4 separate regions of the Homo sapiens genome follow, and regions 1, 3 and 4 are each linked to region 2. Evidence: promoter capture Hi-C in human tissues and cell types (Jung and others, 2019). All regions are on one chromosome and are shown on one strand. The core of a region is centred on a gene start or on the middle of the fragment in contact, and the rest is flanking DNA. Distances in the headings are between cores, read along the strand shown. Region 1 overlaps MYO5B (myosin VB). Region 2 holds the start of MYO5B (myosin VB). Region 3 has its middle 43 kb from the start of SKA1. Region 4 overlaps LOC105372114 (a long non-coding RNA gene).

Evidence for each region. The method cuts DNA at HindIII sites, captures the fragments that hold promoters and counts their contacts. A contact is called where the count stands out against the background at its distance.
Region 1: a fragment that was not itself captured here is called in contact with the fragment with the promoter of MYO5B in region 2 in 1 of the 25 tissues and cell types used here (aorta).
Region 3: a fragment that was not itself captured here is called in contact with the fragment with the promoter of MYO5B in region 2 in 1 of the 25 tissues and cell types used here (bladder).
Region 4: a contact is called between a fragment that was not itself captured here and the fragment with the promoter of MYO5B in region 2, in 1 of the 25 tissues and cell types used here (lymphoblastoid cells).

What each region holds. Positions count from the first base shown.
Region 1 is chr18:49,966,643-49,972,988 of GRCh38, forward strand. All of the region lies in intron 10 of MYO5B (myosin VB), which reads right to left. LOC124904299 (a long non-coding RNA gene) reads right to left here. Exons shown (of 2, transcript XR_007066365.1): 1 at 4,200-6,346; 2 at 3,079-3,337. Among named protein-coding and RNA genes, the nearest start is that of SNHG22, 160 kb to the left of the region's middle. The HindIII fragment of the contact is 7,322 bases long and covers 1-5,058 here.
Region 2 is chr18:50,193,768-50,199,544 of GRCh38, forward strand. It overlaps MYO5B (myosin VB), which reads right to left and starts at 1,380. Exons shown (of 40, transcript NM_001080467.3): 1 at 1,000-1,380. The coding sequence starts at 1,026. RefSeq lists silencers at 1,055-1,294, 1,355-1,594. The HindIII fragment of the contact is 5,061 bases long and covers 1-4,103 here.
Region 3 is chr18:50,415,269-50,420,977 of GRCh38, forward strand. No RefSeq gene overlaps it. Among named protein-coding and RNA genes, the nearest start is that of SKA1, 43 kb to the left of the region's middle. The HindIII fragment of the contact is 7,478 bases long and covers 1-5,709 here.
Region 4 is chr18:50,356,750-50,362,373 of GRCh38, forward strand. All of the region lies in intron 1 of LOC105372114 (a long non-coding RNA gene), which reads right to left. Among named protein-coding and RNA genes, the nearest start is that of SKA1, 15 kb to the right of the region's middle. The HindIII fragment of the contact is 7,543 bases long and covers 1-5,624 here.

The DNA.
Region 1 (6,346 bases), core at 148-2,647, 230 kb before region 2:
CACAGAGGATTTAAATATCTCAGACTTGTCATTTTCTAAAGGTTTACACTGGTAGCACTCCACAAAGAACATTCTCATTAATTTGAGATGGACTGAAATTAGCTTGTAATTTTCCTATTTCTAAGATATTATCTGGTAACAATTCCTGTGCCATCTAGCATAATTACTTAAATGCCGGAGGCCCAGAAATGAATGAGGGGCTCGGGCAGCTTGGGGAAACATCTAAAATGACAGACCTCAGAAAGCCACAGTTGGGGAGATTGGGTAACTTTTCCTTTACAATGGAATTATATTTATAGTAATTCCTCCCATCAACAGAGAAGACTTTTTAAAATAAACACAATGAATCAATTTATAGTTCACAACATTAAAGTGTCACAAAGAAATTTATATGCTAAAGAGAACTGAATTTCTCTTGTAAAATCAGTGTTGAAAATATTTAAACCAGAATCCTTGGGCCGGAGGAAGGTCAAAACATAGAGTAAGAATCGATGCTGAAATGTGGCATCTGGTCTCTCGATGGCACAATGATCACACTGTTTCCATTTCTATTTTCATAGTCGAAAAGTATACAATTTCCTTCTCATTCTACCTTAACTTCAGAGTGTAGTAAGGGACACAGATGCCTCTACAAATAAGGTAGTGTCCGTTGGAAAGTGAAACTGCAATAAAAAGTCAATTAGTCACTAAGTTAATGATCAACCTCCTTGAATCTCTCACTCCATGACCTGGAGAGAGAACAGAGAGGCAGTGAGATGCTTTGAAGATTGGGAAACTCTACGTTCCCCTGGCACAGGTCAAAGGAACTAAAATCTCCTAGCTCAGCCTGGTCTTTCCAATTTATAAAGCTCACTCTCCAGCATTCTGCCTTTGGTAGACTGAAAAGATGGACTACAGATTAGATACAGACGATAGCTTCCAGGGAATGATTATTAGAAGTCACACAGAAAATATAACATGGAGAAATTCTCCCTGGAGAAGCCTTTAAAAGCAGGGCCATCATGCATTGAGGTCAGAGAAATGATCCAGACATCCTTTCAAGGTCCCTTTCCATCTTGAAGCCTATAAAATCTCACAAGGCCACCCTGGGTCTGTCAGAGAGGCCAACCCTTCTGATCTCTTTACTGAACAACCTCGGGATGCTGGCTGTACCTTGGAATGGTGGGGCCTGCATTCCGCTCAGGTGCTTCTCTGTGCCTAGATGCCCCCACCCAGGACTAGTTTTTTTAGACAGAACACAATCCCAGGCACTGTTCACACCCCAAGGCGAAGGTCAGTTATTCTTCTTGAGGACCTAAATCCACTCAGTTTGCCAAATGCTCCAATTCCCAGCTCGTCTTCAGGCCTGAAACTCCAATGCAGGACAGGAAAACATCCACTGTATGGCGATCCTCTCCCAACCTAACAGCCAACTGTCCCAAACTATGAAGGCTGTAAAGATGAGCAAGTCACAGTCCCTGCCCAGAAGAGCTACTGGGCAGATGACAGGAAACTAGTACATGAGAGCCTCCCCAAGGAATAGAAATTGTATGTGTTGTAGGCTTTTAAAAGACAATGAGGCCATAGTGTTCCCAAACCAAACTGAGGGTCGGGCTGCTTATTCTCGTGGCCCAATAACAAGATGCAGATGAGCTGGGGAGGAAAAGAGTTTTTACTTTCTGCAACCAGTTACAGGGAGAAGGCCTGGAAATTATCGCCAGCCCAACTCAAAATTACAAAGTTTTTCAGAGCTTATATACCTTCTAAGCTGTATGTCTACATGTAAGTGTGCATTCATCCAAAGACATAAGTGATTAACTTCTAATCTATAACTAAGATCTGAGTCTTGAAGACTTTCCTCTGGAGCCTCAGTAAATTTACTTAATCTAAATGGGTCCGGGTGCTGGGGTGATTACCCTTATCTTGTCTCCTGCTAAATCACGGAGGTTTGGGGAGTTCCTTCAGGCCCCCCAATAAACTTGTTTCTAGAGGCCTGGGGAGTTTCTTCAGACCCACAATAAAACTTGTTTAATCTTAAACGGGTCCTGTTAAGAATTCATTCCTTATTTTGTCATGCTTTAAGGCCCAGGAAGGGCCTAGGCAAGACTCTTGGTGGGCTCTTGTTACATTCCAGCCTTTGTATGAGGGCACTGACTTTTTTAGCTTTTAATATTTAACTTAACCACTCACTCAGTACTGAAACAGTTGCTATAGAGGCCTGCGTTAGTGAGACCTGGACTGCCACATAGTGTGGGAGTACTGGCATGGACAGAGAGAACATGGAACTTCATCTGAGCCTTGGAAGCACACAGTGGTGTCAGGCTCCAGGCACACTCCAAAGGGCCACCTCAGAACAATTCGGGAAGGTGGAGCCTGGCTTTAGAGCCCTCTTGAGCTATGAGGCTTTCCTAGGAGGCTGGGAGACTCCAGGGTGAAGCCAACAGCTTCCGATGATCTGCAAGGTTTGAGAACACTGTGGCTAGCCATGCATGTCCTCCCTGAAGAAGGCATGTCCAGGGATCTTCTGGGCTGTCCAGGGCTGAGACACTGTCACAGGCTGAAGGGTTAATGCAATTCCTGATTTCTCCCCCTCCATTTTCTGTGAAACCTTTCGATACTGGCTAGAGAAGAGATGGGTAGCCTCCAAATAATTATTGCAGCTTTGAGGTTATTTATGTTTATTTTGGAGAGCGAGACCAAGAAAACTAAAGCAAAAGAATATTTTTTCCCCACCAAACAAAGGTGAACAGTGGGTCTAAGAAGTTTACTTAAAATATATCATTGTAGTCAACCTACAGAACGTGAGGAAATATTTGCAAATCATATTTCTGATAAAAGATTAATAACCAGAATATGTAACAACTTGTAAATGAATATGTAAAACACATTCCGCCTGCTCCCACACTGTGGCGTGTACTTTCATTTTCAATAAATCCCTTCATTCCTTCCTTGCTTTGTGCGTTTTGTCCAATTCTTTGTTCAAGACGCCAAGAACCTGGACACCCTCCACCGTTAACAACACAGTGCTGGGATTATAGGCATGAGCCACCGCGCCCGGCCTTAAAGGCATTTTTAAACATACCATTAAAGAGCACCGAATAGAGTTGGATGCTAATTTATTATTAGGAAGTACCACAAGAAAGTAACAGAGGACTGATGAGGATATAAAATCCCAGGAAATCCTATGTCCTGCTTCCTGGGGTCAAAACTTCCCCACCTTCTACCCCATTCTCTCCCCAGCTGTTCCTCAGCAGAACACATGAATCTGTTACAGCCTGTGTTGCTCCCAGGCCAACTGTCCTCCGCAAGAATGGGCTGGCCATAGCCAAAGCCCTCTGCTACCTTGGCATCTTGAAGGCTGAAATCAAAGACAAGTAAATGTGTATTTTTCCCAAATTGAAGCCGTTTATTTCTTGTTGCCTCAAAGAGAGGATAGGAACAAAGGATTAGAGACTCAAGGGGAGGAGAGGTATAAAGGATTACAGACTGCAATTAATCAGGCCTAGAGAGGCAAATGCAGGTTAATGCAACCTGGAAAGGGAATCCCAGCCAAAAGCTGCCAGGATCTCCCCTATTAATTTCCATACCCTGCCTGGTCAAAAATACCCTGAAGGCGACTTCACAGATCCTTGGTTAAGGTGAAGAGCTCAGCTTGGGGTGACTAAATTGTTCTGAGTACTGCTTGCTTTGCACTTTTTGTGGAGCTGGGACAGAGGAGCAAGATGTAGGGAAGCTTCCACCAGACACTGGGGGTCTGGAACCATTCAGAAAAGCCTTGGGGAAGGGCCTCTGAGCAGAGCACTCACCACAGTCATGGTGGAAGCAGCTGTGGCCCATGCTAATTTGTTTAGAAGCCCACAGCCTTTCTCCTCTACAAGCTAACTATGAGTCAGAACACAGTGATGGGGAGAAATGTGTGTATACGATGCTGGCGTGTGTACTGCTTGCTTATAGAAAGAAGTGAGTGTGTATTCACTCTGGCTGTGAGTTCTGTGGTAACATTTAACACATTTATAGGAAAAAGTGGAGTGGCTCATGTTTGGTACAGAATTATTTCGGTTCATGAATGAGCTTCACTGGCGGGCCAGGAATGCCCTAGATAGGCACTGCAGCTCATCCGGGGACAGTTATCCCAGTGGAAGAAATCAGTGGCCACTGGTGGGGTCAAGGGGAAGAAGCAGCAGTTCCACCCTCGTTTCCTAGCTTTGCCCATTTCCAACCTGAGAGGGAGGCAATGTCTCGTTCTTTTCCACTTCCCGGATGTGGCTGGCTGTATTCAGAAACTCATCCCAGTATTCTTTCTGTTCTCTCTGGACTCCACTTTTGCCACTCTTGCTCAAAAGAGACAAGGAGAAGTGAGAAAATCAAAGACATCAGGTCAGCCCCAGGGCATCCTCTATGGGTACTCAGGCATCCCCACACCCCCACTAAGAAGGAGTGAGACAATGGACAGATGGTCTTCTCCTCCAGGGTTTGATGGCCAGGGATATGAATAGAAAACTCAAAAACTAAACAACGCTTGGGTTTTCTTATGCCACAGAGGATGAAAAACTCCTTAGAATCACTTCCCATAGTCATGAATAGAATAAAGCCTAATGACTGGAATGAGTTTGAACTGGGAAGGAGGTGAGTAGAGAGGGCGAGAAGTGGGGCTGAGTGTGATGCCCACTTCCAGGTAACCAAGAAATGACCACATTAAAAAACAAAAAAGGCAGGTTTGGTGGGTTTCTGGAAGGTATGTGAAGTCCAAAGGAAATAAGGCAGATAAGACACTGTAAGTGGAAAGGGGCAGATGACAGTAAACGGCTCACACATGCTATCCCAAGTTTCCACCCAGGGTTCTGTGTTGTTTTCTCCCAGATTAAGAAATGATATCACTGACCTGATAGATTAGAAAGTACCTCCAGACTCAAGCCACCTGCTCTTCCGTTAATTTGTTGATTTTAATCTCCTAAGAGTTCTCCTAAGAGTTCATTACATACCCTCTCACCAGAAAGACAGCCTGGGCCAGTCCACATTTGTAAAATTTCTTGGTGAATCAGACCATTGAGTAGCATGCACTTCCATATTTAGGGCATGTATGTAAGTGCTTTCTTGGCAACCAATGGCCCAGGCACACAGCTAGCTTGTTCACTCTGAATTCCCTTGTATCTAACTTGTTATCCTTAACTCAGAGAGAGTGTGAACTCAGCACTGCATTGAGCTACAGAGGAGTAACTGTGCATGGGACTTATTTGTCTCAAGAAGAAGAGTCACTTTTAAAATATGACAACTTTATAACAAAAAAAGTGAATTGGTTTCTGAGAAAGAATGAAGATTAAGAAAAAAACAACATAGCATGCCCGGAAGAAAGCACAAAGGGTAGGAAAATTCCCAAGAATGGCCTTATGCTGATGGCCCTGTATCGGGACCCTGCCCTCATGGAAGAGCTGTCAGATAGTCTCAAAGGAGCCCGGAAGCCACTCTGAGATGAAGGAGACACAGGTGAGGAGCTGGCACTAGGAACAGGAGACCAAGTCCTCCAGGTTGCCACCCCATCCATGGAAAACTATTGTTTTCAAACCAGACAAGCCATCCTTGCGATCTATTTCTCCCCTTTAGGCAGTCACAGGATGTTAGAGAAAACAAACAATTACAAAAATTAAATGGCAAATATAAACACAAAATCCCAGCTTGCACAAACCGGGCTGACATCTGTGGACTCAGCAGCCCCACGAGCCCAGCTCACGGAGGCCTCCTAAGAACAGCAAAAAACCCAGCGGAAGATCACAGGGAAGGAGAAAGCAGACTCTTTAAATTCAAGGCACTGTTAAGATGATATAGAAATACAACAGAACTGAGGCATGGTATTTTATGTAGCAGTAGTAAGGAAATCATAAAATTTTTACATGCTATTGACAAGTCTGCATGTTAATCTTCCTAAATCAAAACCTCAGTAAAATTATATCCTTCTACAAGTGGATTAAGGGAATTGGGTCAGCTTGGGTTTCCCCAGGTCTTACTTGGAAGGTAATACCGAAAGGTCAGTATTTTGGGATATCCAATTACCTGAAAATACTCAAAGTAGAGAGATCAACACATAATTAATGATTGACAATGAGACTGGAAGTTCCCAGAGAGCACACTGTTCTATGCTCTCCCAAGAGCAACTACAAGGGCTGAGCACAAGGCAAGCACTCGATGGACCAGAGGAGAAGGGGCCTGCCTGGGGTCATGCAACTGAAGGCCTGGGGAGGATGCCTCTTCTCACCTCCCACTCTCGGTGATTCTCCACTGTGTGCTCCTTATCAGCAAGGAGGTTTGCCTTCACACTCTGCTCCTTCCTCATATCTTGGTTGCACTCCTGTTCCCAAAGATGCCTCCCTCA
Region 2 (5,777 bases), core at 130-2,629:
CATAGGGCACATGTGAAGAAAAGGCCTTTGCCCCTCTCACTACTGACTCCAGGTTGAAACTCGAGGGGTCCCGGGCGGCTGCAGCGCTGCCGCGAGCTCCCCTGGAAGCGGTGGCTTGTCCCTAACTTTAACCACAGCAACTGCTGCGGAACGCGGGCGTCTCCGCCCGGGCTGCACCTGTTCCCGATTCGGAGCACCCAGCCTCACACATCCCTTCTGACCTTGAAGGCATCCTGAAACTCACACCCTGCTCCCGGTTCGACTTTACTCCAACCCCCTCCCCGCAGTCACTGAAGCCCTCTTTGTACCAAAGAGGCCGCGTCAAAACATCCATCCCCAGCAAATTCACAATGCTCTTCCCTGGGGTCTCCGGAGATAACGGCGCACCCCTCTACCCATTGCTTACCCTCACTCCATCCAGCCGCCGCGCCCTCACGCCAGGTTGTCTCCTCCCTCTCCACCAAGTCCAGAACCCCCACCTCTCCCAAGTCCAGGGTTCCCTGTTGTGGGTATGCGGGAGGAAAGGACGCCTCGGAGGCGCGCCCTCGAGAGCCGGCGCCGCAGAGCCCCTGGGGTGGGGTCCACGGCGGGGACAGGGGACAGCAGCGGGAGCACCGCGGGGGCCCGTCCCGCGCACGGCGCTCAGAGCTGGCAGGGTCGCCCTGCCGTTCGGGGAACTCGGTTGGAGCCGAGCCCAGGCAACGAAAGTGAGGGGCGCGGCGGGGAGGGGGCGACAGCCCTGGCTTGGTGCTGAGCCGTGGCGCTGCGGAACCTCTAGGAGCCGGGTGGCCGGTCAGTGCGGGCGTTCCCGGAACCGCCAAACTTTCTCCGCCAACCGAAGTTAGGGACTCCGAGGACAGTGACGAGGAGGACACCGCGGAGGGGGGTCTCCCGTCACCTCCCGCCTCCAGTAGCCGAGGGAGAAGGCGACCCTGAGTACTAGGTGGCCCCGAGCGCGCCACCCCGGCCCCGGGGCGCCTCCCTCGCGGCCGCGCTCACCTGGCTGTAGAGCTCGCCCACCGACATGGCCCGGGCCGGGCGGGGCTCGGGCCCCGGCTCCTGGCTGCCCCGCGGCTCTCAGTCCGCGGCTGGCCCGCCTGGCGCCATGTTCCCGGGCTGGCCTGGAGTTTCTCGATCTTCTCGCTCTTCTCCGACCTGCCCCGCCGGCTTCCCGCAGGCGCCGCGGCCGGCTCGCTCCCGGCGGCGCGACCTTTACTCCCGCCGCGGCGGCGCAGCTACGGCCGGACAGGAGTTGCGAGCGCCGGGGGAGGAGGCCGCGCCGCACCACTCCCCTCCCAGGTGTGGGGAGGAGGCGAGGGCCGGCGAGGAGGGAGGACCCGCTCGCGTCAGAGCGGACGGCCCGTGCGCCGCCGCGCCTCTGAGCCCTGCCGGTGCCCGGCCCGACGCGCCCTCCCGCGCCCCCGCTGCCACCTGGGCCTCCGGGCCGGGGGCGGGGCGCTCAGAGAGGAGCTCCGGGACCGGCGCGGGCCGCCCCCTGCTGGACGCCGCGCGCGCGCAGGCACAGGTGCGCCCCGGCGCCCGCACCTGCCCTGCCGCGCTCCGCTTCCACCCGCACCGGGCCCCGCGGAGTCCGGCATGAACGCGGTGCAGACAAGAAAAGGGAAGAGGAACTAACCAGAGAGGGGGGAAAAAAGAGAAGCGTCTATGGCTGGAAGGCCCCAGACATTGCCCTCGATTTTACCTGGCTGTATTCAGCGCTTTCATGATTAAAATTCAGTTACTCGTAGATCGTTATTAAGGCGACCTGGATATACATACACCAGGGATCTTCTCCTTCAAACTGAACTCTCTGCGCGGAAATCCTTGTCAGTAAAGTGGGAGTCGTAACTCCTTCTGTACAAATATTGTCCACTTTCGCCCACAGCCTCCAAGGAGACTCCAGGCCACTCATCTCAGAGGGCTTCTGCTTTTCCGGGAAGTCTCACGTTCTCCCAACCCCCGTCTCGTCTACATGCAGACTCCGGGTCCTTTTGCCACTCACTACCTCGTTTATTTGTGTTCCCTCTCTGACCATGGCACTTGGCTGCCTGCAGCAACTTCAGCTCCTCTCCTACTTCCAGTGAAAAGTAGAAATTTCAACCAAGAAAAAAAAAAAAAAACTGCCAGAAGTCTGTGGAGGGAGACGAGGGGCTGTCAGAGGAGACACTCCCTTCTGAAGCTGACATCTGTCCCTGACCCAGGGGTGGCCCCTGAAAAGTGGTTCTCAACCGGAAGATATATCTGTACCAGCCGGGGCAGTTGTTCAAGAGCCCCAGAAGGTGATTCTCAGAGGCATCCCACCTGGAACTCAAGATCCCGTTGTAATTCACCTGTGCAGGCCTTCCCATGGGCACCTCCACAATGAGAGTCACATGGGGAGCTTTAAGCGTTCCAAGGAAGAGGCCCCAACCCAAGGAATTCTGATATAATGAAGGATGGGACCTGGGTATCCCAATTTTTAAAGCTCCTCTGAAAGTCTAAAGGATGGTACTTCCAGGGTGACAAATGCATTGACCAAAGCTTGGGCGGCTCTCATTGGACCTAAAAATGGAACTCTTCACATCAGTGGCAAGAGCAGAAAGGGATTTTTTTCTCTTCCTCAAAAGTTTTTCTGCATATTTCCCTTCCCCGGATTCCTGTAGCTCTTAAAGTGTGTCCCCACCCCCCACGCCCACCATCAGCATCACCTGGTAACTGTTAGAAATACAAGTTATTGGGCTCCACTGCAGACCTACTGAACCATAAACTCTGGTGTGGGGCCAGTACTCATTGTTCTTTCTGCCTCCAGGTGATTCTCCCCTTTTTGAATAAGAAAGTCATCAGTCCTGCCTAGATCCTGGCCTCTTCCTCCACCACCATTAGTGGTCCCATCTCTCTACCAGCAACTCTTCCTCTCTCCACTGGCCCCTGGCTTTTTGTGTTTTCCTCTCCTGCTAAACTTCTTAAAGCAGTAGCTTCACTTATTTAGCTATCTCCACTTACGCCCAGTACCTCCTTAATTCTCTGATTCTCAACACTTTATGCACATCAGAATCACTTTTGAAACAAGTGGATGTCTGGTTCCCACTCCCAGAAATTCTGATTTAACTTGTCTGGGGGGTGTTGCCCTGGGTGAAAGGATTCTGAAGAGCTCCCAGATGGTTCTAATGGCAGCCAAGTTTAAGAGCTGCTGTTCTGGCCGGGTGTGGTGGCTCATGCCTATAATCCCAGCACTTCGGGAGGCCAATGTGGGCCGATCACTTGAAGTCAGGAGTTCAAGACCAGCCTGGCTAACATGGTGAAACCCCGTCTCTACTAAAAGTACAAAAATTAGCTGGGCGTGGTGGCGCATGCCTGTAATCCTAGCTACTTGGAAGGCTGAGGCAGGAGAATCGCTTGAACCTGGGAGGTGGAGGTTGCAGTGAGCCGAGACCACACCACTGCACTCCAGCCTGGGTGACAGAACAAGACTCCATCTTTAAAAAATAATAAATAAATAAATAAATAAATAAATAAATGTTGCTGTTCTAATTTCTTCTTATTTGGCTTCCACTCAGACCTATCCTATTGAAATTGCCTCATCACTGTGAAGCATGGGGTGGGAATTGATTCAACCCATTACGTTAAACCATCTCTTCCCTGAGTACTATTTTTCTCTTGTTTTCTCAGCCTCTCTAACCAAACCTTCTCAACATTATTTTCTAGGCCTGCGTCCTCTTCCTGGTTTCTGAATAAAACTATGCTCCATTTCAGAGATCTCATCTTTCTTCTCAGCCACGCCCCCATTTTGTCTCTTGCTCACAATGCTAATTCTCAAATCTAATTCTAACCTTACTCAAGATCCACCTTTCCACCTGCAGATAGGCAATGGTAACAATGCCACTTGGACCTCGGACCAACCTGACATTCATTTGTTTCCATCCTTTCTCCCCACCCGTAACTGGTTCCAACTGTCTGGCTTCCATCACACCTGGCACAAATGAAAAGCTCAATTCATGTTAACTGAACTGAATCGCATTCCTGAGTCCTACACTTGGCCAGAGCTTTGTGAATTTCTAATTCCACAATCAGATATGGTGTTTCCCTCCTTTGAACAATAAAGACATTTTAAAACTTACTTGATCCAGGAAACATACCAAGCGCTTTACTTCTGTGATCCTGTTGAAGCCTCAGAGCAACCTTATAAAGGAGGTTCAGAATATTAAGGCTGTTTCACAGATGGGCAAAGTGAGGCTTAGGGAAGAAGGGTGTGAAAAACACTCTAGGTCAGACAGCTACTGTTCAATTAAAGTCTCACTCGAGCGTCTAACCCTTGCTTTTTATGTCAATGGATGTTGAACTTCAGTGTGTACCAGGATTAAGGGGCTATCAGGGGATGTTAATTCAGTTGGTCAGAGACATGATCAATGAGTCTGAATTTTTTTTTTTTTTTTTTTTTGAGATGGAGTTTTGCTCTTGCTGCTCAGGCTGGAGTGCAGTGGTGCCATCTCAGCTCACCGCAACCTCCGCCTCCCGGGTTCAAGCGATTCTCCTGCCTCAGCCTCCCGAGTAACTGGGATTATAGGCATGCGCCACCATGCCTGGCTGATTTTGTATTTTTAGTAGAGACGGGGTTTAGCAGAGATGGATCAACCTCAGGTGATCTGCCCACCTTGGCCCCCAAAGTGCTGGGATGACAGACGTGAGCCACCATGCCCGGCCTATGAGTCTGCAAATTTAATACATATCCCAGGTGGTGTAGGGCCCACACTTTGAGAAACATTGCTCTGTGCTCCACGGCTTCTCAAAGTAAAAAGAAGATACCTGTTGGAAATGCCTTAGTCTCCTTCCTGACAGGTGAGGATTTCCCTCACACAAATAATAAAAAGTGAACTTCCAAGGCATTCATTTGCACCCTGTATGATATGTGAACTAATATCCCTTTCTCCTCCTCACCACTAGGTTCTAAGAGTCTTGAGGGCAGGGACCACACCTGATCCATATTTGTGTCCTCTGCACTTCCTAGAACATGACTTGCACAAAGTTGATCACAGTAAATAGTAGGTAAATAGAGATATGTTTTGAGCCAAGTCTTAAAGGAAGTACTGCTCATTAATTAGTGGAAAAGAGAAAATAAAGGGATTACTAAACAGAAAAATTTGCATAAGCAAAGAAAGAGAGGAGGGATTCCACTAAGAAGAAGGCTTCTTATTCACTGGCCCTTCTGTGAAAGCGGTTTATAAACTATACAGTGACAGTTAAAATTATTTTCTTATGGGCTGGACACAGTGGCTCATACCTGTAATCCCAGCACTTTGGGAGGCTGAGGCGGATCACTTGAGGTCAGGAGTTCACAACCAGCCTGGCCCACATGGTGAAACCCCATCTCTACTAAAAATACAAAAATTAGCATGCCTGCAGACCCAGCTACTTGGGAGGCTGAGGCAGGAGAATCTCTTGAACCCAGGGGGCGGAGGGGGCAGTGAGCTGAGATTGTGCCAGTGTACTCCAGCCTGGGCAACAGAGTGAGACTCTGTTTCCAAAAATAATAATAATTTTCTTATATCCTCTCCTTTACCAAACAGATTCATATCTTCCCCCTTTCCTGCTCTATCCTGAAAACCTCAGTTCCTTAAACAAAGGCTGTCTTTCTTGCTCATATTACGTACCTACCGTGGGTTGGATGCGGCTCTGCTCTAGAGACTTTCCTTTGGGCTCCCATCTGGAAGCTTCCCTGTGTTGTGGTGGAAGGAAAAGAGATGCAGCAAACCCCGTTCCAGCTTCTAAAGCTTCTGCTTGAGGACTGACTCACATTTCAA
Region 3 (5,709 bases), core at 945-3,444, 220 kb after region 2:
AACCAGGATATTGACATTGATACAGTGAAGATACAGAACATTTCCATCACCACAAGGATCCTTTTTGTGTGAACATGTCTTCACTTCTCTGGGAGTGCAGTTCCCCAGAGTGTTCTTGCTGGATCCTATGGTAGTTGTTTATTTAGTTTTCTTTTTTTAATTGTCAAATTGTTCCCCAGAGTGGCTGTACTATTTTAAATTTCCCACTAAGCGCTGCTTTTTCTGTACCCCACAAATTTTGATAAGTTGTATCTTCATTTACCTTCTTTCAAAATATTCTAAAATTTCTCAAAACTCCTTTTTTTAACCCATGTGTATTTACAAGTGTGTGGTTTTATTTCCAAATATTTTCAGATTTTTCTATATATCTTTGTGTTATTGATTTTTTTGTTTAATTCCATGTTGTTCTGAGAACATACTTCGTATGATTTCTATTGTATGATTAAGTTGTGATTTCTGGACTGGGATGTGGTTTATCCTAGTGAATATTCCATGTGAGCTTGAGAAGAATGTGTATTCCACTGTTGTTGGATGAAGTATTCTATAAATGTCAATTAAATTCAGTTGACTGATGGTTTATTGTTCAGCTCAACCACATCTATACTGATTTTCTGCCTGCTGCGTCTATCAATTACTGATAGAGGGGTATTGAAGTCTCCAACTATAATAGTGACTTTGTCTATTTCTCTTGCAGTTCCATCAGTTTTTGCCTTATATATTTTGATGCTCTGTTGTTAGGTGTACACACACTAAGGATTATTATGTCTTTTTGGAGAATTTACCCCTTTATCATTAATGTCTCTCTTTTCCTGGTCATTTTCTTTGTTCTAAAGTTGGCTTTGTCTAAAACTTATATATAGGTACACCAGCTTTCTTTCAATTAGTGTTAGCAAGGTGTATATATCTTTTTCCATTCTTTTATTTTTAATCTATTTGCATATTTATATTTATAATGGTTTTCTTTTAGACAGCCTCTACTTGGGTCTTGGTTTTTTTAATCTACTCTGACAGTGTTTGTCCTTTAATTGATATATTTAGAAAATTCACCTCTAAAGTGATTATTGATATATTTAGGTTAATATCCACCATATTTGCTACTGTTTTCTATTTGTGGCACTTGTTTTTGTTTTTGTTTTTGTTTTCAGAAAACATTCCCTTCTTTTTCTGACTTCTCTGTTTTAAGGATTTTATATCATTCCATTTTCTCTCCTCTCTTAGCAATATATATTATCTTCTTTTAAAACATTTTCCTATTGTTTGTCCTAGAGTTTGCAATATATATTTACAATTAATATAAGTCCAATTTCAAATAACAGTATACCAGTTCATGGGTAGTATATGTACCTTGTACAAGAATATGTCGTTTCTTCTTACTGTGCCTTGTAAGATCAATCATTTCACTTACCCACAAATTATAATCACCTAAAACATTGTTGCTATTATTATTTTAAACCAACAATAATCTATTAGAACAATTATGAACATAAAAAATAAAAGATTTTATTTTATCTTCATTTATTCCTTCTCCAAATGCCCTTCCTTTCTGAAAATATATGTCAGATCAAGTTTCTGACATATATCATTTTCCTTCTGCCTGAAGAAATTCTTTTTTTTTTTTTTTTTTTTTTTAGTATTTATTGATTATTCTTGGGTGTTTCTCAGAGAGGGGGATGTGGCAGGGTCATAGGATAATAGTGGAGAGAAGGTCAGCAGATAAACATGTGAACAAAGGTCTCTGGTTTTCCTAGGCAGAGGTCCCTGTGGCCTTCCGCAGTGTTTGTTTCTCTGGGTACTTGAGATTAGGGAGTGGTGATGACTCTTAACAAGCTTGATGCCTTCAAGCATCTGTTTAACAAAGCACATCTTGCACCGCCCTTAATCCATTTAACCCTGAGTTGACACAGCACATGTTTCAGAGAGCACGGGGTTGGGGGTAAGGTTATAGATTAACAACATCCCAAGGCAGAAGAATTTTTCTTAGTACAGAACAAAATGGAGTCTCCTATGTCTACTTCTTTCTACACAGACACAGTAACAATCTGATCTCTCTTTCTTTTCCCCACATTTCCCCATTTTCTTTTCGACAAAACCGCCATCGTCATCATGGCCCATTCTCAATGGTCGCTGTCTCTTCGGAGCTGTTGGGTACACCTGCAGAAAGGCTGTCACTTCACACTTGGAAGATTGCACAGCAGCCATGCAGAGGCGCTCCTCACTTCCCAGATGGGGTGGCCGGGTAGAGACGCTCCTCACCTCCCAGACGGGGCGGCCAGGCAGAGGTGCTCCTCACCTCCCAGACGGGGCGGCCGGGCAGAGGAGCTCCTCACCTCCCAGACGGGGCGGCCGGGCAGAGGCGCTCCTCACTTCCCAGACGGGGCGGCCGGGCAGAGGCGCTCCTCACATCCCAGACGGGGCGGCCGGGCAGAGGCGCTCCTCACTTCCCAGATGGGGCGGCCGGGCAGAGGCGCTCCTCACTTCCCAGACGGGGCGGCCGGGCAGAGGAGCTCCTCAACTCCCAGACGGGGTGGCGGCCGGGCAGAGGTGCTCCTCACATCCCAGACAATGGGCGGCCGGGCAGAGGCGCTCCTCACTTCCCAGATGATGGGTGGCTGGGCAGTGATGCTCCTCACTTCCTAGATGGGGTGGCGGCCAGGCAGAGAGGCTCCTCACTTCCTAGACGGGGTGGCGGCTGGGCAGAGACGCTCCTCACCTCCCAGACAGGGTGGCGGCCGGGCAGAGGCACTCCTCACCTCCCAGACGGGGTGGCGGCTGGGCAGAGGCTGTAATCTTAGCACTTTGGGAGGCCAAGGCAGGCGGCTGGGAGGTGGAGGTTGTAGCGAGCTGAGATCACGCCACTGCACTCCAGCCTGGGCAACATTGAGCACTGAGTGAGCGAGACTCCGTCTGCAATCCCAGCACCTTGGGGGGCCAAGGCGGGCAGATCACTTGAGGTCAGGAGCTGGAGACCAGCACGGCCAACATGGCGAAACCCCGTCTCCACCAAAAATACAAAAACCAGTCAGGCATGGCGGCACGTGCCTGCAATCCCAGGTACTCGGCAGGCCGAGGCAGGAGAATCAGGGGAGCCCGAGGCAGGGAGGTTGCAGCGAGCCGAGATCACGACAGTACAGTCCAGCCTCAGCAACAGAGGGAGACTGTAGAAAGAAAGAAAGAGAGAGAGAGAGAGAGAGGAAGGAAGGAAGGAAGGAAGGAAGGAAGGAGAAATTCTTTTAACATTTCTTGCAAAGCAGGTCAACTGACAACAAACTCCCTCAGATTTATTTGTCTGAAAAGTCTTCATTTTTCTTTCACTCTTGAAGGATACTTTTCTGTTTTTTTTCCTTTCAACATCTTAAATCTATCACTTTATTGTCTTCTTGTTTGCATAGTTATTGATGAGAAGTCTGATGTGATTCTTATTCTTGTTGCTGTTATAGGTGAAGTGGGGTTCTTTCTTTTTTGCCCTGACTTCTTCCAAGATTTTCTCTTTTTCTTTGGCTTTCTGTAGTTTTAATACAATATGCTCTGGTATAGGTTTTTTGGTATTTATCTTTGGTGTTTTCTAAGATTCTTAGATCTGTGGTTCGTATCTGTCATTAATTTTGGGAAATTCTCCGGCACTATTGCTTCAAATATTTCTTTCTCTCCATCCTCTCTTTCCACTCCTTGTATTTCTATTACATGTATGTTTCCCAGCTGTTCACTCATTAGTCCTGGGTCACAGGTTATTTACTCCTAAGGCCCTTCTGTTGTTTCCATAGAAAGCCAAAGCTGTTTAAAAAGCCCCTCTAACTTAGCAGGATTCAGTATCCAAACTTTGTCTCCCTTTTTGTAGGTAGCAGCTGATATCATTACTCAACTTTTTTGCCTTCCAGCTGTTGCTTTCCAATGTACTCCTTGGAGGCCCCTCTTCTGGATGGAATGTGTAAGTAGATTTGGGGGCTTCTCCCTCTGTGGCTCCTTCTTCTCTAGAATTTTGCCCTCCATTATCAGCCATTCTGGAACTTCCCAGTCCTCCCATTGACACCTCAAGCCAGTAAGACTGCTTTCTATTTTTAGTTGTAGGGCTAGCGACTGAGAAATACCCTCAGGGAAAAATACCTGTCTACATGTAGATCTTACCCAGTTTAATTCCTTTCTTTCTGGAGACATATTCTTTTTATTTTTTTACTTTTTATGTTTGGGGTACACATGAAGGTTTGTAACATAGGTAAACTCGTGTCATGGCGGTTTGTTCTACAGATTATTTCATCACCCAGGTATTAAGCCCAGTATCCAATAGCTATCTTTTCTGCTTCTCTCCCTCTTCCCACCCTCCCTACTCAAGTAGACGCCAGTGTCTGTTGTTTGCTTCTTTGTGTTCATGAGTTCCCATCATTTAGCTCCCACTTATAAGTGAGAACATGCGGTATTTGGTTTTCTGTTTCTGCATTGGTTTGCTAAGGACAATAGCCTCTAGCTCCAACCACGTTCCCAGAAAAGACATGATCTCGTTCTACTTTATGGCTGTAGAGTATTCCATGATGTATATGTACCACATTTTCTTTACCTAATCTGTCATTGATACGCATTTAGGTTGATTCCATATCTCTGCTACTGTGAATAGTGCTGCAACAAACATTCGTGTGCATGTGTCTTTAATGGTAGAATAATCTATATTACTCTGGGTATATGCCCAGTAATGGGATTGCTGGGTCAAATGGTAGTTCTGCATTTAGCTCTTTGAGGAATTGCCATACTGCTTTCCAAAATTATTCAAACTAATTTACACTCACCCAAACAGCAAAGATAGAAGACTGCCCCTCCCTCTGGGAGCTCCCACACAGGAAGGTTTCAAATCTGTTTGCTGGAGAATACCAGCAAAGGTGAGTGGAGACCCGGGTTGGGAGGTCCCACCCAGTGAGGAGGAATGGGATCGTGCACCTGCTTTAAGAAAAGCAGTTTGGGCCGGGCGAGGTGGCTCACGCCTGTAATCCCAGCACTTTGGGAGGCCGAGGCGGGCAGATCACAAGGTCAGGAGATCGAGACCATCCTGGCTAACATGGTGAAACCCCGTCTCTACCAAAAATACAAAAAATTAGCCGGGCTTGGTGGCGGGAACCTGTAGTCCCAGCTGCTGGGGAAGCTGAGGCAGGAGAATGGCGTGAACCCGGGAGGCGGAGCTTGCAGTGAGCCGAGATCGCGCCACTGCACTCCAGCCTGGGTGACAGAGCGAGACTCCATCTCAAAAAAAAAACAGTTTGGCCATATTTTCATAGAGCAGCTTTGCTGTGCTGGGGAACCACTTCTACCACCACTGGGCTTGGAATGGCTAAGTCATCCAAACAGCAAAGATGGCAACGCATCCCTTCCTCTGGGAGCTCTGTCCCAGGGAGCTTTCAAATCTCTGTTGGCCAGAAAACACCGGCAGGGGTGGGTGGAGACCCCGGTTGGGAGGTCCTGACGGTGAGGAGGAATGGAGTCGGGGACCCACTTTAAAAAGCAGTCTGGCCACGTTTTTGTAGACCAGCTATGCTGTGCTGGGGTATCCCTTCCACCGCTGGTCGCCTTGGATTCTCCAAAGCCCCAAGGCTGAAATGGCTAAGTTGCCCAAACAGCCAAGATGGCAGCCTGCCTTTCACCCTGGGAGCTTCCTCTCAGGGAGGTGCAATGCTGCTGCCAGGGACTGGCTGGAATTCTAAGCCAGTGGGTCTTATCCTGTTAGATGCT
Region 4 (5,624 bases), core at 716-3,215, 160 kb after region 2:
ACATGGTGCTCACGGACTAGCAGAGGAGGCAGTGACAACTGCTGTGAAATAGTAGTGAGTGTTAAGAAGAAAGATGGGGAGAGGCACGTTAGGCAGAGTGAGGAAGTGAGAGAGATAAGGCAGGAGGGGTGTTGCAGAGCAGGTGAGAGAGGGGTATCCTAAGCAGGTGGCATTGGCAGAGAAGGCTGGGAATGGTCTACACATCCCATGTTTGTTTCTGAGTGGTGGGATAATGAATTTTTTGTTTTATTCTTTATATTTTTCTGTGTGTGTGTGTGTGTGTGTGTGTGTGTGTGTGTGTGTTTGAGACAGGGTCTCTCTTTGTCACTCAGGCTGGAGTGCAGCAGCACAATCTCTACTCACTGCAGCCTCCACCTCCTGGGTTCAAGTGATTCTCGTGCCTCAGCCTCCTGAGTAGCTGGGATTACAGGTGTGTACCACCACAGCTGGCTAATTTTTAAATTTTTTATAAAGTCAGGGTCTCACTATGTTGCCCAGGATAACATTTTCAATTAAAAACATGTGCTACTTTGATTTTCAGAAAAAGGGAGTGCTTAAAAAGAGAGCGAAAGTTCAACTTCATAAACTTGAAGAGCACTGCTGACTTCCTACCTGTGGCCACGTAGTCCTAGCTGCGTTTTTCTGGTGGCTTCCAGAAGAATGGCACTGCCCTGCCACCTTGTGGCCATGTGGCAAGTAAACCTTCCAGCCAGCATTACAATAAAGCCAAAATCTGTTTTCTCACGTTTGAGGAAGATGACAAATATTCAGCATTCTAAGTAAGCTATGATTTGGATGGAGCTTTATTGATAGCACTCAGAGATAACGTGTTCTGCTTTATGGTAATACTTCATCCTTTTGGCATCATCAAGAAACAGCCTCTCTACTCAAAGCTTAACTCTTAAGGACCTACATAAAGATTATCTGAACATTCTTATTCATTTCTTACAGAGTGTATTGAACACAAAAACCTTTCCTTTAGAGCTCATGATTTTTAAAAACAATATCTCCTCAATGCAAAGATAAGTTCAATCCATCACCAGGAAGAGCCCAGGCTTAGCTCATAGGAAATACAAGTGAATCCAGGGATGGTGGAGAATTTTTTTTTTCTTTTTCTTTTGTTATTTATTTATTTGTTTGAGACAGGGTCTTTCTCTGTCAACCAGGCTGGAGTGCAGTGACACCATCATGGCTTACTGCAGCCTCATCCACCTGGGCTCAAGCGATCCTCCCATCTCAGCCTCCTGAGTAGCTGTGACTACAGGTGCGTGCCACCACTCCTGACTAATGTTTGTATTTTTTTTAAGAGACCTGGTTTCACCATGGTCCCCAGGCTGGTCTTGAACTCCTGAGCTCAAGCAATACGCTGGTAGGGCTTTTTCTTATTGTTACCCTCTGTATTGATTTGTTCAGGTTGCCAAAACAAAGTACCACAAACTGAGTGGCTTCTTACACAACAGAACTTTATTGTCCACAGCGCTGGAGGTAAGAAGTTTGAAATCAAGGTATTGGCAGGGGTTGTTTCCTCTGAGGGGAAGGTCTGCTCCAAGCCTCTCTCCTTGGCTTGTATGGCCATCTTCTCCCTGCCTGTTCACATCACCATCCTCTCTGCATGTCTTCATGTCCAAATTTCCTCTTTTTTGTAAAGACAATAGTCATATTGGTTTAGGGCCCAGCAAATGACCTCATTTTAACTTGATTACCTCTGTAAAGATCCTATCTGCAAATAAGTCACATTTTGAGGTATTGGGGGTTAGGACTTTGAAATATGAATGTGGGGTGAGCACAGTTCAACTCCTGACACCCCTCCTGGTGTTGCATTTCAGTAGAAGACCAGTGAGCCTCAGGTAGGAACCTGGAAAGCCCCACCGTCTTGTTTCCTCCCATCTTCCCTTTCTTTTCCCTCAATGGCTTTCAACTCTGATTCACATTAGAATTATCCAAGGAGTTTTTAAATTTCTGATTCTGAACCCCACCCCTAGACCAACTAAATCAGAAGAAAACTCGCAGGGAAACTTAATCCAAGAAGGGATCAAGGAAGGCTTCCAATGGGAGGGGATTCGTTCACTACATTTTGAAAAATGAATGGATGATTGAGATAGAGAATAATGAGAGGTGTAGAAAGAACATCATAACCAAAGACTTAGTGGGGTCAGACAACATGGGTGGGCTGGCAGGGCTTGTGTGTGTCCTGATGGCAGAGGGAGGGGTGGGGGGTCACACACAGGGGCACAGGAGCAACCCTACAGGCAGCTGTTGCTGTGAGATAAACGTCCAAGCAGGAGGTGCTGAAAGATGAAGCTGATGAGGCAGGCAGGGGCCAAATCAAGAGAGGATGTGTGCCTCATGCAAAGAAGCCTGGGTTTCCACATCAGCATTTCAGAAAGGGAGCTGCCATCACCCCCAAGCTCACTACTGACCATAATGTCAGGTGTGGCTGCCCTCCTGTCAACTGCATCACCATTGTGATTCTACTTTCATAAGCAATGACAAGTGTGAGTTCACTGTTACGACAAAGGATGTCGTTGCCAATTCTGAAGCTGCTGTGGATGGCAGTGAGGCAGGATAGAGTGGAAGAGGCAAGACCAGGAGCTGGGCAAGACCAGTGAAGTATAATGGATGGCAGAGAGGTGTAGACCCTAGTCAGGAGGACAGACAGTTAAGAAATGCATTGGGTGGACCGGGCGCGGTGGCTCATGCTCATAATCCTGCACTTTGGGAGGCTGAGGTGGGCAGATCACCTGAGGTCGGGAGTTTGAGACCAGCCTGACCAATGTGCAGAAACCCTGTCTCTACTAAAAATACAAAATTAGCTGAGCATGGTGGCACATGCCTGTAGTCCCAGCTACTCAGGAGGCTGAGGCAGGAGAATCGCTTGAACCTGGAAGGAGGAGGTTGCAGTGAGCCAAGATCCTGCCATTACACTCCAGCCTGGCAAACAAGTGCAAAACTCTGTCTCAAAAAAAAAAAAAAAAAGAAAAAGAAAAAAAAAGAAATGCATTGTGTGGAGTGGGGCTCGGGGGTGAGGTGACCAGCTTGCCTCTTCCACTCTATCCTGCCTTACTGCCATCCACAGCAGCTTCGGAATTGGCAACCACATCCTTTGTCATAACAGTGAACTCACACTTGTCACTGCTTATGAAAGTAGAATCACAGTGGTGATGTTCCTGCCCAGGCACTGAGGTGAAGTGAATGGTTTGGCAACAGGGTACAAGCGAAAATGCAGAGGTGAAAATCTGGGCCTTGGAACAGCTTCATCAAGTCTGGCAAGGGAGACCCAATCCACTCAACTGCAGAATGTGCATGTGACCACTACATGGTGAACAGAGTACTGAGCTTTGCTGCTCTACCAACCATCATGGTAGGGGCACACATTCTACTCCCCTGAATGTAGCCAGGCTCTGGGGAGCTCATTTGCAGCTTTGACTCATTCTGGGCAGCCTCAATTTTTCTCAAACACCAATTGCATCTGGGAAGGTGAATTCACTGTGCCTAGGTTTGTCCCCTCTGCTATAACAGTGATGCAATGTCACGTGAAAGATTCCTATCATAATTTAACCATTTTCTAAATTATCTGGGAAGTTTATTTGGAGGTTTGGGAGTGCTCTAATGATGTATGATAAATCTTTGATGCAAAGATCTACAATCTTGCAATTTACTATAAGCATCTTTGAAGTACATGTTATTAATTTAACCTTATATAAAGGTTATATACAGAATCTGTACCTCAGTATGCTTAGTTGTATCCACATAGAGGACTTCTAAAACACCAAAACTGCCTCATTATACATTATATAGACTTGCACATCATAATGGCAGTTAATAAAATGAAATTCTGTGTTTTCCTTTTTATAGTTAAATTTTTCCTTAAAAAAAATAACTTTCAGGAGATAAGCAAGAAAAATGCCTTGGCCTGGGAGATTAAAACCTATCTGGCAAAATGAAAACATTGATGTAAATGACATGAAAATGGTTCTGTCTGGCTTTGCTGTGGCCCGTTATTAGAGATCAGATTGGCAGCTGCTTCCACAACTAATTGATTCTAGGAAATTTGGCAAGCCTTATACTTCTCTATCTCAGAAACTGGACAACTGCCCACTTTGTAAATACCAACGTAACAATATCCTTTAAAGTGCTTAAAATGCATTGGGAAAAATCCCTATCAAATAAAAGATATACTTATGTAACTTATTATAGTACTTGATTTCAAATATTTATATGTAAAATACTAATGACTGTTCTGATAAATACTTTATCAAATTCACAAAGTATGTCAGTATGTGAACAGCATAATCTAAAGGCTTGTGCTGGTGTCTTCCATTTGCCCCCTAAGATCCACTCTCTGTGGTTTTCCAGCCAGTCCTGGACCCAGTGGGGGAATGTGGGTGCTGACCTAGGGTTTCCTTTGCCTTCTGGCTTCAGGTTGGGTTCAGCCAACCAGTGTAGGGTTATCAGCAAAAGATCCATAGGTGGGAGGAGAATGGAGGCAGGTATTTATTCTCCCCATGAGTGTTCTCTGAATTGATACTGAAGGCCATAGTTCCTGTCAGGTGACCCATTCCATAGACCCCTCACCCCATGACCTTCAATCTTTGTGCTTAGAGGTAATAATAACTGTTCCCTGAGATTGCAAGCCCCAGAGAACTCCATCATCATTTGCTATCTTCTGTAAACTACCCATATATTTTAAATATTTCTTTTTATTAAATTCTCCTCCAGTGATCCAAATTGAATTTTCCACCTTGAATGGTAACAGTGCTTTTACTCTTTTCCTTTGTGTTGAAAAGGAAGCATGGGCAAAAGGTGCTGAAATACAATCTCTGCTTATTAAAACAAACAAATAAACAAAAAAAAAAACAAGCAATTCAGTACCACAAAGCTGCTATGTTAATACATCTCTTTTTCCTTCTTTTTCTTTTTTTTTTTTTTTTTTTGAGACAGTCTCCCTTTGTTGCCTGCGTTGGAGTGAAGTGGCGCGACTCAGCTCACTGCAACATCCACTTCCCAGGTTCAAAGGATTCTCGTGCCTCAGCCTCCGAAGTAGCTGGGACTACAGGCATGCGCCACCAGGCCTGGCTAATTTGTTTTTTTTTTTTTTGTATTTTTAGTACAGATAGGGTTTCACCATGTTGCCCAGGGTGGTCCTGAACTCCTGAGCTCAGGCAATCAGCTTGCCTTGGCCTACTGAAGTGTTAGGATTACAGGTATGAGCCCCACACCCAGCCTCCTTTTCTTTAAACAGAAGGCAGTGCTCCAATTTCCAGTCAGCTCTGAATCACTCTTTATTGTTGTTTTTTAAAATTTTTTTAAAAAATAGAGATGGGGGGTCTCGCTATGCTGGCCAGGCTGGTCTCAAACTCCTGGTCTCAAGCAATCCACCCATCTCAGCCTCCCCGAGTGCTGGAATCACAGGCATGAACCACCATGCCCAGTCTCTAAGTCACTCTTGAGGTCAGTGCACCTATAGCCTGTGAGGGTTTGTGGGATTATTCAGATATTGTTATTGCTTGGGTTGGACATTTTATACCCCCTTATGCAGCAGCCATCCTCTAACGTGAACTAGAAGGAGGAAAGTTTTTCTTTTTTTTTTTTTGAGACAGAGTTTCACTCTTGTTGCCCAGGCT